Regions from separate parts of the Homo sapiens genome. Here region 2 is linked to region 1. The links are contacts of gene promoters, found by promoter capture Hi-C in blood cells and fetal thymus (Javierre and others, 2016). All regions are on one chromosome and are shown on one strand. The core of a region is centred on a gene start or on the middle of the fragment in contact, and the rest is flanking DNA. Distances in the headings are between cores, read along the strand shown. Region 1 holds the start of ZNF396 (zinc finger protein 396). Region 2 overlaps GALNT1 (polypeptide N-acetylgalactosaminyltransferase 1).

Evidence for each region. Contacts are between HindIII fragments. The CHiCAGO score rates a contact against its expected background, and 5 or more counts as called.
Region 2: a fragment that was not itself captured here is called in contact with the fragment with the promoter of ZNF396 in region 1 in 1 of 17 cell types (M0 macrophages); the score reaches 5.1 in M0 macrophages.

Annotation. Positions count from the first base shown.
Region 1 is chr18:35,375,673-35,382,407 of GRCh38, reverse strand. It overlaps ZNF396 (zinc finger protein 396), which reads left to right and starts at 5,071. Exons shown (of 4, transcript NM_001322286.2): 1 at 5,071-5,130. RefSeq lists silencers at 5,286-5,355, 5,366-5,555. The HindIII fragment of the contact is 6,702 bases long and covers 3,713-6,735 here.
Region 2 is chr18:35,640,034-35,646,507 of GRCh38, reverse strand. All of the region lies in intron 1 of GALNT1 (polypeptide N-acetylgalactosaminyltransferase 1), which reads right to left. Among named protein-coding and RNA genes, the nearest start is that of MIR3975, 52 kb to the right of the region's middle. The HindIII fragment of the contact is 1,689 bases long and covers 700-2,388 here.

The sequences.
Region 1 (6,735 bases), core at 3,822-6,321:
GCTGACAGCCAAAAAATGCTGGAGGAAGAAAGGAATGAATTCTCCTCTAGAGCCTCCAGAAGGAGGACTGCCCTGCATGCTGTCACTTTAAGCCCAGTGAAATGGGTTTCTGACTTCTGGCCTTTAGAACTGTGAGGAAATATATTTCTGTTGTTTTAAGCCACCAGATTTGTGATAATTTGTTGCAGTGTCCACAGGAAGCTAATACAAGTGCCCACTGAAATCACCTGGGGAGCTTTAGCTACATTATTTCATTTAATCTTCAGATTATTATGATCCCAATTTTATAATCAGGAAATAAGGATTAGAGAATTTTAGGACTTAACCCACAGTAGCTTGCGGCAGAGTTGGGGAGTGAACCCAGGTTTGTCTGTTGACTTTGAGACCACATTGGATTTCATAAACAAGGGAAAGAAAAATGTGTAAGATGACTCCTAAGACTTACTGCCTGGAACATAGAGCTAACAGCAGTTTCACTATCAAAGCAAGGAATTTGGCCTATTGAGGGTGATGGAGAGAGAAGATGAACTCAGTTTGGGATACTTCCTGATATGGTTTGGCTTTGTGTCCCCACCCAAATCTCATTTTGTAGCTCCCATAATCCCCATGTGTTGTGGGAGGGACCCGGTGGGAGATGACTGAAGCATGGGGGCGGGTCTTTCCCCATGCTGTTCTCATGATAGTGAATGGGTCTCATTAGATCTGATGGTTTTAAAAACAGGAGTTACTCTGCACAAGCTCTCTTTTCTCTTGCCTGCTGCCATCCACGTAAGATATGACTTGCTCCTCTTTGCCTTCTGCCACGATTGTGAGGCCTCCCCAGCCATGTGGAACTGTAAGTCCAACTAAACCTCTTTCTTTTGTAAATTGCCAGTCTCAGGTATGTCTTTATCAGCGGCGTGAAAACAGACTAATACACTTCCTTAATTGTTTTCCCAACTTGATACTTTATTCACGTCTTCCACTAAGGGAGAGAGAGCTCCCCTAGTTCCCTCACACAAACTCTCATATCTGTTCACTGTGTGAAAAAGAGTCATTCGAAATCTAAGCTGCTAGAACTCTAAATTATTTTAGGACTTGGAAGAATGTTATTACTGATCCTGAGTCACATGGTAGGCACCTATAAACTAGGGAGCTATAACCTTCTGTTTCTCTGATTACAGATGAAGCCTTTTCCCTTACCTGCATTGTTTTGTAAAATGTTATATATGGCCAAAGGGAAGAGGAAGACCCCTTCCCTCTCCACTGTTGGCCTTTATTATAGATTCACCTTTCTCTTACCTTTCTCACACACAGACTTCTTGACTATCACATTGACTTAAGATAGAATGTTAAATACACTCTTTTAAATTGGAAACCAAATGAAAACCAACTATAAAGAAAACAAGCTATATGGAAAAGAAAACAAACTAACTAATTAATTTGTTGAAACTATTAAGCCAGCCTTGTATAGAAAATGTTGCAATCCTGATAAATTTCTTTGTCTTCTTCCTATATTAGCAAGATTTAACTTTTAACTTTGGAGCACTGATCCCATTTCTCTGGAGTCTGTGTGTCCTGGAATGGCTATTCCCAGCTTTTTGTTTGAATAAACTCTTTAAAACTGGATTCTGACCCTTTTATTATTTCAGGTTGACAAGTGTGTACCCACACTTGGACTCCTACACATACAACCCATCCACCACTTGCTTGGAAACCATAGTTCCATTGTAGGCAAATTGCTTTTTATTGCTCAATCTAAATTTCTTTTTTTTTTAATTTTAAAGTTTTTATTTTTGTTAATTTTTTATTTCAGTTTTGGGGTACATGTGGAGGCTTGTTATACAGATTAACTGAATGGGGGTTTGGTGTACATATTATCTCATCACCCAGGTAATAGGCATAGTGGGTAGTTTTTGAACCCCGACCCCCCACTCAAGTAGGCCCTAATGTCTATTATTCCCCTCTTTGTGTCCATGTGTACTCAATGTTTAGCTCTCACTTATAAGTGAGAACATGCAGTGTTTATAAACCTAAGTTTCTTTTTTTTTGAGACAGGGTCTCATTCTGTTGCCCGAGTTGGAGTGCAGTGGAATGATCATGGCTCACTGCAGCCTTGACTTCCTGGGCTCAAGTGATTCTCCCATCTCAGCCTCCCAAGAAGCTGAGACCAAAGGTGCATGCCACTATGCCCAGCTAATTTTTGGTATTTTTTTGTGGAGATGGGGTTTTGCCATGTTGTCCAGGCTAGTCTCGAACTACTGGGCTCAGGCAATCCTCCTACCTCGATCTCCCAAAGTGCTAGGATTACAGGCATGAGCCACCATGCTTGAGCCAACCTAAATTTCTTAACCTTCTAATTCCTTATCCTATAGAAACATGGCAGCTGTGTATAATACATCCACTTCATGCACCTCGGGTCAAAAAAAACAAGGGTTATGTGTTTAGACAGACACAGATCCATGCCCCTAAAAGCTTCTACCTAGGTGGAGAGCAAATATGTTGGGATGAAGGGAGTGGTGAAGAGTACAAAGTTGAGAAATAAATGTCTCTATAATGTCATTGTAGAGTGATTGCCTTAGAAATGGTTCATAAAAGTCATAGAGATCTTTACATACCTATATAAGGGAAGCATTCAGATATAAAACATGTTTGATATTTATTTTCACATGATCACACAAAATGTCCAATTATGTGCAGTTATTGATGATAGCATCCCATTCAGCTTCTGATCCAGTCTACCCAAAAATCCCCTCAAATATCCACATAAGCCATTGTCAAACATACTCTGTTGTTTAACTTCCCTGAATGACACATTATGTACCCAATCATCTGTCAGTCTTCCATCTAAGCAAGCACCAGCCTCCCAAGTGTTTCCAGAATCTGCCTCCATTCTCGTCCCCTCTGTGCTAGTTCAGACCTTCACCAGCTGCAGCCTGGATCTTTGCAACAGCTTCAGAGCTGGTAACCCTGTCTTGAGTTTTGCCTCCCTTCAGATCTATCCTTCGTGTTGCTATCAGAGAGCCCTACCTGAATTGCAGATGTGCACATGCCACTAATTCAAGTTTCTGCTTAAAACCTTAGTTCATAGCCCTTTACTTGGCCTGTCAAACCCTTTAAAACTAGGCTGCTGTTTGCCTCTTCAGCCTCATCCTCAGCCACTCATCCTGCTGTCCTTTAATCCAGCAAATCTAAACAACATCCCACACTGGTACCTCAGTCTCAAATGTATCAACACCAGCTTTCTCCATCAACTCCAATCCCAGTCTCTACCCAGGACCTCCCTTTCTTTGTGCTTTTATAGTATCCTGCAGTTGTCTCCATCAGAATGTTGCCACATTGTTTAGAAAAGTCAATTTATTCATCTTTCTCTTTACTTAGTCTATTAGCCCCTAAAGGGCAAGAATCTATATTTTACCATTGAATTCCCGGTGTTTACGATACAACTGGTATATAGTAGGTGCTCACCCTACTGGGACCTTATTCCTGCTAATTTCTTTTCACTTTACCCCCAAAATTTTTAAAAAATTAAAACAGCAAACAAAAACCTGTTCTTGCTCTAACTACCTGACTGTGAAACTTTTCTAATCAATCTTTTATGTCTGCTCCCTTTTTTGTTGTTGCTGTTTTTAACTTTGGCCTCTGATATCTGGCTGTTTGGTGGACCATACCCATGAATTCATCATCCCTGACCTCTTGCCACATCCCACAGTTCCTCCTTCTCCTTGAAGCTTCTGACTGTCGTTCATATTCTCCTTAAATTGTCTCCTGTGACTTCACACCACTGCCAAGCCTTGCCCTCGTTTCAAATTCTCCCCTGACGTGAGTCATTTAACCTACCCTACCCACCAGCGCCAGAAACACATTCCCACCTGCACTTTTGGGCTGTTTGCTATTTGTGTTGGCAGCTGCATCAGCAAAAAGTCTTATCCTGTGAAAGCCCCTTGTTTGAAGCAAGAATTTCTTCAGATTTAGTTTTACTGTACTCTAATTGGGATCCAAACCTCTCCCTAGTCCCCTAGCGTCATAAACTGAGTAAACCAGCCTCTTCTTTCTTCACTTCAGATTCCAGTACTAACATACTTTTGGGGCGGCGTCATACCAAAAGGGATTTTTTGTTATTGTTCTTTATTAATTAGCAAGTGCTTTTCAAGCATCTCCGTCCTCTCCCTAATTCCTCAGTTACGAGTACAAGTACATTTTCCAGGAGTCCCTAGGGAAAGGGGCTAGAGAAGGAAGTCACGAGGTGGGGCTGTGGTGCATTTAGGCTTAAATTTATTTATTTATTTATTTTTTGAGACGCTCTCACTTTGCAGCCCAGGCTGGAGGGCAGTGGCGCAATCATGGCTAACTGCAGTCTCCACCTCCCCAGATTGAGGTGATCCTCACCCCTCAGCCTCCCAAGAAGCGGGGACTACAGGCATGCGTCTCTACACTCGGCTAATTTCTGTATGTTTTGTAGAGATGCGGTTTAGCCATGTTGGCCAGGCTGGTCTCGAACTCCTTGGCTCATGTGATCTGCCCATCTCGACCTCCCAAAGTGCTGGGATTACAGGCATGAGCCACCGCGCCCGGCCTCAAACTTATTTTTCAATTGAGATTAAGATTATCTGAGGAGAGATATGTGTATGTATTGTAACAAATTTTATGTGGGTCAGTTCTCACTTTTTCAAGGGCCATTGTGTTCTCCTGTGAAAGCATGGGGTTGCGGATGTCAAACTTGTCCCTTAAAACGTCAGTACTTGGGGTGTAACCACTTCGGGAGTGGGAATGGTATTAGGGATTGTACTCAGCGGTAGACAGCACAGCATTCGCCCCTCTCTGTAATCCTTGGCAAGTCACAGGACATTTGAGTTTATTTTCTGTAAAATGGGAATAACCTTACTGAGTTACCGGAGTAAATGAATAATGTAAGCAAAAGCACTTTGCGAAGCAACAATGCTAGTTTATTGAACGGAACACTGAGCAGAGCAGCTGGATTCCCACCGGTCGAGCCTCCCGGTTCTCTTTCCCTGTCCCAAGTGCGCGGCCACAGCGGCTCTTCTCCATGGCAACGTCCCCGCGTTCCGGGCCCCGCCCCGACCCGCCACCAGAACCGGAAGTTGTTGCGCAGCTGGCAGTTCCCCGGTTTCTCCCCGACGGCGTCGGGAGGTGAGACCCGAGGCCTCTTTAGGGCCCCCAGGCTGCGGTCAGAGGCGGTGGTCCCCGGGTGGTGGAAGGGGGACGCGGAGAGGCGGCCGCGGACTCGTCGCCACCCCTCCCTTCGCGCGCAAGTGCAGCACCCTTACACCGTCCCAGATCCCCAGGCCCCTCCCCTCCGCTGCCTGCCCCTGAGTCCGCGCACCCCTTCCCCTCGTCCTTCCCCGGCGGACCCCGGGCGCCTGCCCTGCCAGGTGAACCCGCGCCACCTGCCGCTTCGCCCCGGCGGTTCCCAGCCTGGGAGGCGCGCGGCGCGGCGCGGTGGGCGCGGGAGGTCGGGAGATGGTCGGAAGCCAGCCCTCCCAGAGCCGGCCCACCACAGCAGGGTAGAGCCGAGAGCGGCGTCCCCTGCAGAAAGACCCCTGCGTCCCAGGCTTTGATCGAAGCCTCCCCTCCAGGGACGTTCTTTCTGGTTGTCGTGCGGTGTCGGGGGTTCCTTACCCTCACCTCAGGTTTAGCACAGATTCTGCGCCTGGTGCTGAAGTGACAGGGCGGCCACTCTCTTCCAGAGGCTGCTTTAGCCCCGGGGTCCCTCATATATCCCTTAGGGTACCTGACGGCTCCAAACCGGTGGCCTCAACCCTTCCCACCTCTCAGGTCTTGTTCCCCAGACTCTTCTGGCCCCGCTTCATCTGGGAGCGCGGCTGCCTGCCGCCACTTCCTCCTCTGCGCTGAGACAACGCGCAGGGGTCACCACAAGGGCCCCTGCTGCCTATGGCCTCTAACCACACAGCACCATGGATAAATGTGGACGGCCTGGGTTCAGACCCCAGCTTTGCCCTTGGCCAGAGTACCTGGCTTTGCTGTGACTGCTTCCCCGTCTACAACATGGGGGTAAAAATAATCTAGGGCTTTTATGAGGATTTAACCTTTGTTTATTTTTACTAAGGTGTTCAAAACAGTGCTTGGCACATAGTAAATTCTGTTAATATGTGTGTCTGCTATTGTTTGTTTCATAGCACATCATTGTGTAAAGTTGTATCATTTATTTGGTAACAACTTTATGAACTCACAGGCTTTATACAGGGCCTAGAACAATACTTGGTGAAGTGAGAAAATAAGTCAAATGGCAGGATACATAACGATGGAAGACGGAGGCGCACGTAAGATTTTTAAAGTAGTCATCATTTGCTGAAGTTGTACAAACACTATCATATACCTCCTGCCCAATTTAAAAAATATGATTAGACCGGGTGCAGAGCCTCACGCCTGTACTCCCAGCATTTTGGGAGGCCGAGGCAGAGGGATCACCTGAGGTCAGGAGTTCGAGACCAGCCTGGCCAACATGGTGAAACCCCGTCTCTACTAAAATTATAAAAATTAGCCGGGCGTGGTGGTACACGTCTGCAATCCCAGCTACTTGGGAGGCTGAGGCAGGAGAATCGCTTGAACCCAGAAGGCAGAGGTTGCAGTGAGCCAAGATCCCGCCATTGTACTCCAGCCTGGGCAACAGGGCCAGACTCTGTCTCAAACAAAACAAAACAACAACAACAACAAAATGAGATTAGTTACTGGTGATACTTAACAGTAAAATGATACAAAGGAAAGTGCCGTCCC
Region 2 (6,474 bases), core at 295-2,794, 270 kb before region 1:
CTTACAACCAACATTATGCTGCCAGGCATGAAAGTGAGACCCCCTTGAAAGCAGCCCCAGGCAAGCCTTCAGATGACGGCAGCTCCAGCTGACATCTTGAGTACAACCTCATGAAAGATCCTGAGCCAATATCCTGCTAAGATGCTTGATATAGTTTGGCTCGGTGTCCCCACCCAAATCTCATGTTGAATGGTAATCCCCAGTATTGGGGAAGGGACCTGGTGGGAGGTAAAAGGATCATGGGGGCAGATTTCCCCCTTGCTGTTCTCGGGATAGTGAGTGAGTTCTTAGGAGATCTGATGGTTTACAAATGTGTGGCACTTCCCCCACCTCTTTCTCTCTCCTGCTCCTCCATGGTAAGACATGCTTGCTTCCCCTTCACCTTCTGCCATGATTGTAAGTTTCCTGAGGCCTCCTAGTCATGCTTCCTGGTAAGCCCGTGGAACTGTGAGTCAATTAAGCCCCTTTTCTTCATAAATTATCGAGTCTCAGGTAGTTCTTCATAGCAGTGTAAAAATGAACTAATACACTGCTCTTCCATTCCTGACCCAAAGAAAATATGAGATAATAACTTCATTGCTTAAAGCCATTAAATTTTTAGGTAATTCATTACTCAGCAACCGAAAACTTCAACAGCAAACTAGAACTAGAAAGGGAATTCTTTAATCTACAATAAACATCATATTTAATGATGAAGCTTCAGTTAAAATAAGGCAAGTTATGTATCCTCACTTCAGTCTGACACTGTACTGAAGGTCCAAGCAACAGATAAGAAAATGAATTAAGGATTAGGGGGAAAAAAACAAAATTATCATCTGCAGATGGTATGATTTCTACATAGAAATTATTTAAGAATCAAAAGATAAACCATTAGAGCTAATTATTGATTTCATAAGGCAGATGACTACAGATGAACATATAACATCAGTCGTGCTCCTATATGGTAGTTATAACTATTTAGAATATATAAAATAAACCGGCCAGGTGCGGCAGCTCACGCCTATAATCCCAGCACTTTGGGAGGCCACGGGCGGATCAGGAGGTCAGGAGATCGAGACCATCCTGGCTAACACGGTGAAACCCCGTCTCTACTAAAAATACAAAAAATTAGCCGGGCATGGTGGCGGGCGCCTGTAGTCTCAGCTACTTGGGAAGGAGGCTGAGGCAGGAGAATGGTGTGACCTGGGAGGCAGAACTTGCAGTGAGCTGAGATTGCGCCACTGCACTCCAGCCTGGGCAACAGAGCGAGACTCCATCTCCCAGAAAAAAAAAAAAAAAAAAAAAAAAAACATTCAAAATAGCTATGAAAACCCAACAGGTGCAAGAGGTGAAGAAAACTGTGGAGCTTTATTGAAGGATACAAAAGAATAACTAACTAATGAATAGATGAGAAAATGAATACAAGGTTATTCCCAAAATTAATCTATAAATTCAATATAATTCTTATCAAAACCCAAATGAGGCTTTGGGGAATGGATTTATTTATTTATTTATTCATTTACTTATTTATTTATTTTGAGACAGAGTCTTGCTCTGTCACCCAGGCCGGAGTGCAGTGGTGTGATCCTGGCTCACTGCAACCTTTGCCACCTGGGTTCAAGCAATTATCCTGCCTTAGCCTCCCAAGTAGCTGGGTCTACAGGTGCATGCCACCATGCCTAGCTAATTTTTGTATTTTTAGTAGAGAAGAGGTTTCATCATGTTGACCAGGCTGGTCTCAAACGCGTCACCTGAAGTGATACGCCCGCCTCAGCCTCCCAAAGTGCTGGGATTACTGGTGTGAGTCACCACGCCTGGCCTGGACTGAATTATAAAGCAGACGTACTTAAAACCATATGGTAACCCAAAACAAATCCATACAAGTGTGAAAAACTAAAAAGATGCTACTACAAAGAAAATTGGTGCAGGGACAAGTGGCTTTCCATATAATTAAAAAATAAACTTGGATCCTACCTTATAGCAATATAAAAGTGAATATGTAGAAAGATAACTGAAGCCAAAATTGTCAAAACCAAGTAGCAGCTATTCTGGCTTACCCCTAGTAGCCAAAGTGAGTACGGCTCCAGTCTCGTAGGCTTCAATTTATATTCCCAGCTTCCTATAAAGTGTTCAGGCCAATACTTCTGCCACAGTTTTTGAGCTGTCAAGTGGTTACTGATCGAAATTTAGCACTGAGAAGCCTTATTCGATAGCCAAAGAAAAAGGAGAACCAATTTTCAGGTCTTGGAATCTTCTTATTCAACATAAGTATTTAACAAAAAATTAGCAAATAATCAATCCAAAATTCCTGCCCAGATTGATGTCCACATTCCATTAAAACCTGGATATTCTCTTTCTGTAGTTATTTCCCGGGTGTTATCTCAAGTTTAGAGGTCAGAAGAACAAGCTTATCATTTGGGGTAGTCATGATGTAAATAAACTCCTATAAAATTTATTGGCTCGAATGTTTCAAATTAGAGAATACAGTGTTTAGTGTCTTGAGTGGAATGTCAGTTTTTAAGATGACAAACTGACTTCCACCAATACCTTTAAAAGTTTATATTTTTCCTGTTTGTAAAGTAATGTATGTTCAAAACAAAGAACCTGGCAAACAGAAAAGCAAAAGATACAAACTCCCTACAAATTTGCATCCCAATGAAACACCAATGGGTTAAATGCCCTTCCAGTCATTCAGAATAGTAGATATGTGTTTTTTTTTCTTTTTTTTTTTTTGAGTCAGTCTCACTCTGTTGCCCAGGCTGGAGTGTAGTGGCACGATCTCGGCTCACTGCAAGCTCCACCTCCCCGGTTCACGCCATTCTCCTGCCTCAGCCTCCCGAGTAGCTGGGACTACAGGTGCCTGCCATCAGCCTCCCGAGTAGCTGGGACTACAGGTGCCTGCCACCACGCCCTGCTCATTTTTTGAATTTGTAGAGATGGGGTTTCACTGTGGTAGCCAGGATGGTCTCGATCTCCTGACCTCGTGATCTGCCTGCCTCGGCCTCCCAAAGTGTTGGGATTACAGGCGTGAGCCACCGTGCCCAGCCAGATATGTGTTATGTTTTAAACCAAGTTTGTAACATCTATTTAGACTCAAGTACTTAATGCCTTAAATGTCCTTATGGGAAGAAGGGAAGGAGACAGGTGTGACTATAAAGTGGTAGGAGAGCTGATCATGCTGTATTTTTATTTTTAACAGGTAATAATATGCTCAACAGACATTTCTAACCCCTCTTCCCACCTCGGCCATGTCTCAGTGCCATGTCTTAGGCAACATCTTAGCGTTAACATCAAAACAGCCCTGATATCCACACAAAGGTGTGACAAAATGCCACACATATTGCTTTACAATTAATACATATGTAACCATTACAAACAGAAGTGGCTGCCGGGCTCATGATTCTGACCCTTAACCTCTCCTCCCCTCCTCAAAAGGTTTCTTCTGGTAACAGATCCAGTTGCCTGGCCACAGTATGACCTAGCCAGGCTGACCACAGGACCTGACTCCTTGGCCTGAGTCACAGACCTGGAAGGCTGTGCTCTAGGACTGCGCTCAGTCACACTGCCCCCGACATGGAGAAGGCCACTTGCAGCCAAAAACAATGTGGCCAAGCAGAGACATACAGATGAGTGGCAGAGCACCCTGACAGTGACCAAGTCCCTGACTCTTCCTTGGCTTCAGTGACCCAACGAGGAATCCTATTAGTCCCCTTTTCTGCTTAAGAAAATCTGAATTGGGTTCCTGACACAACCAGAATGCTTGGGGAACCAGGGAAGAGGGGGCAATAGGTAAAAAGCAGCTTCTAGTCTGCTGATGAGCTTCCACTCTGTGGGTCATAATTATATATTATGAGACAGACTATACTATTTGAAAAGATACTTTTTAATGCCCCAGATCACAAAAACTTATAAAATATCAAAAGAGTACGTATAAAACATGTCACGGAAATAAATGATCACAACACAACACACATCTCCACCACCTGGTTTAACAATAAGAACATGATTTTTAAAGTTCCCTCTCAAATCCCATCTCTTCCCCAACTCTTCAAAGGCAATCCCTATTCTTACGGTCCTTCCTTGTCCTGATAATTTAACCTCACGAGTATCTTTAACAATGCCTTATTTATACTTGACTGTTTCTGAAGTGCTTATAAGTGGAAAAACCTGACTTGCTTTTTTCTAACACTGTTTCTGAGATTTATCCATATGCTTGGATCCATCCATGCATCCAATTCCATTTCACTACTGAATAGTATTCCGCTGGCTTAGCAAACCTATTTCTCTACTCTTAACAGACATTTGGGTTCTTTCTAGGTTTCCGTTATTACAAGCAATACTGCTATGACCATTCCTGAACATGTCTACTAGTACGCATGTGCAAGAGTATTTATTTAGAGAAGAGGTCAGTAAATATTTTCTGCAAAGGGCCAGATGATAAAGATTTCAGGCTTTTTGAGTCATGCAATGTCTGTTGCAACAACTTAACTCTAGTGTTGTACCATGAAAGCATCTGTAAGAGGTACATAAATGAATGTGACAATATTCCAAGCTTATTTTTGGACACCAAAATTTGAATTTCATATAATTTTCACACTATAAATTACAAAATATTATTTTTTTTAAGCACTTAAAAATGTTAAAAACCATTCTTAACTCATGAGTCATCACACCGACCCCTGATCTAAAGTATATACGTATGGTTGTTAGGTGGCACAGTATGCATATTTTCAATATGATCAGATATCACCAATTTGTTTTCCCAGGTGGCTGAAACCACCCACCAGATGTGAACTGTTATATCACTGCACGTGGTGGATGTGTTATATCGTTGACAACACTTATTACTGTCAGACATTTTTATTTTTGACAATCTGATGTAATTGGTATCTTAATATAGTTTTAATTTGCATTTCCCCACCATCTCTGGCATTACTGATCATTCCATTTCCTCTTCTCTAATATGCCTACTGAAGTTCTGCTCTACTAGATGTGTTGTTTTGTGTTTTTCTTGTTAGTCTGTGAAGATCCTAATGTAGCCTTGTGTGAGTTAAATGTACTGCAGTATCTTTTCCCAGCGTTTTGGAGACAGGGTCTCCCTCTGTTGCCCAGGTTGGAATGCAGTGGCACAATCATGGCTCACTGAAGCCTCAACCTCCTGGGCTCAATGAATCCTTCCCACTTCAGCCTCCGAGCTAGGACTACAGGCACACGCCATCATGCCCGCCTAATTTTTGTATTTTTTTTGCAAAGAGAGGGTTTCACCATATTGGCCAGGCTGGTCTCATACTCCTGGGCTCAGGCAATCCTCCCACCTCAGCCTCCCAAAGTGCTGGGATTACAGGTATGAGCCACCATCCCAAGCCCTTTTCCCAATGTTCTTAATAAAAAAGAAGTATCTTTGTCTGGGTATGGTGGCTAATGCCTATAGTCCCAATACTTTGGGAAGCCAAGGTGGGAGGATTGCTTGAGGCCAGAAGTTCAAGACCAACTTAGGCAACATAGCAAGACCCCCATCTCTAAAACAAAAAAAGTAGCATCTTTTACGGTTCATATTTTCTATGTTTTAAGAAAATCTTCTCTATCTAGAAATCATTATAATGTTTTAATATCTAAAAATGTTAAAGGTTTGCTTTTCCCATTTAAGCAGGGATTCAATGTCATTCCCTCCTATGTGGATAACCAGCTGTCCAAGAACTATTTATGGAAAGCTCTCTCTAAAGGAGTGTAATACCAACTTTGTCACAAGCCAAGTTTCTGGGTTTCCATATTCTCTTCTATTGATCTATCTCTCCCTATACCATACTGTTGTCTTAACTTTTACAGCTTTATACTAATTCTTCATATATGGTAAAACAAGTCTTCTCACCTATCACAACTTCTTTAGAGGAGTGTCTTGGCTACTCCTGACCTGTTAAGTCTTCCTCAAAAATTTTAGAATCAACTTTTTAACCCAAAAATAAAAGTTGTCATGATTCTGACTAGATTGAAATAAATCTATAAATAACTGGAGAGATCTGCTATCTTTCCAAAAGCATCTTTAAATCTATAAAAATATTCTCTCTCCATTTATTTAGACCTTTCCTAACATCTTCCAATAAAATTTTATAATTTTCTTTTAAAGGTTTAACACAATTTTGTTAGAAAATACTTGTTACTTTAATTTTTTCCTACCTGAAATGGTATTTTATTGCTGATTTACAAAAATGCACCTGTATTTTTATTTGTTGATTTTAAATTCAGCTACCTTGCGAAGATTTCTAGTATTAATAACATATTGAAAAAGGAAGGTAACAACAGGCATCCTTGTTTTATTCCTGATCTTAAAGGGTAGGTTTTAATAAGGCAAAAAAAGAATGTAGTAGCTATGATTGATCATTTAATTACTTAAAATAATATTCCAAATACTGCAAAAGAAATCTAGTAGTTAAGGCTGGACATGGTGGCTCACACCTGTAATCCTAGCACTTTGGGAGGCCAAGGTGGGGGGATCAC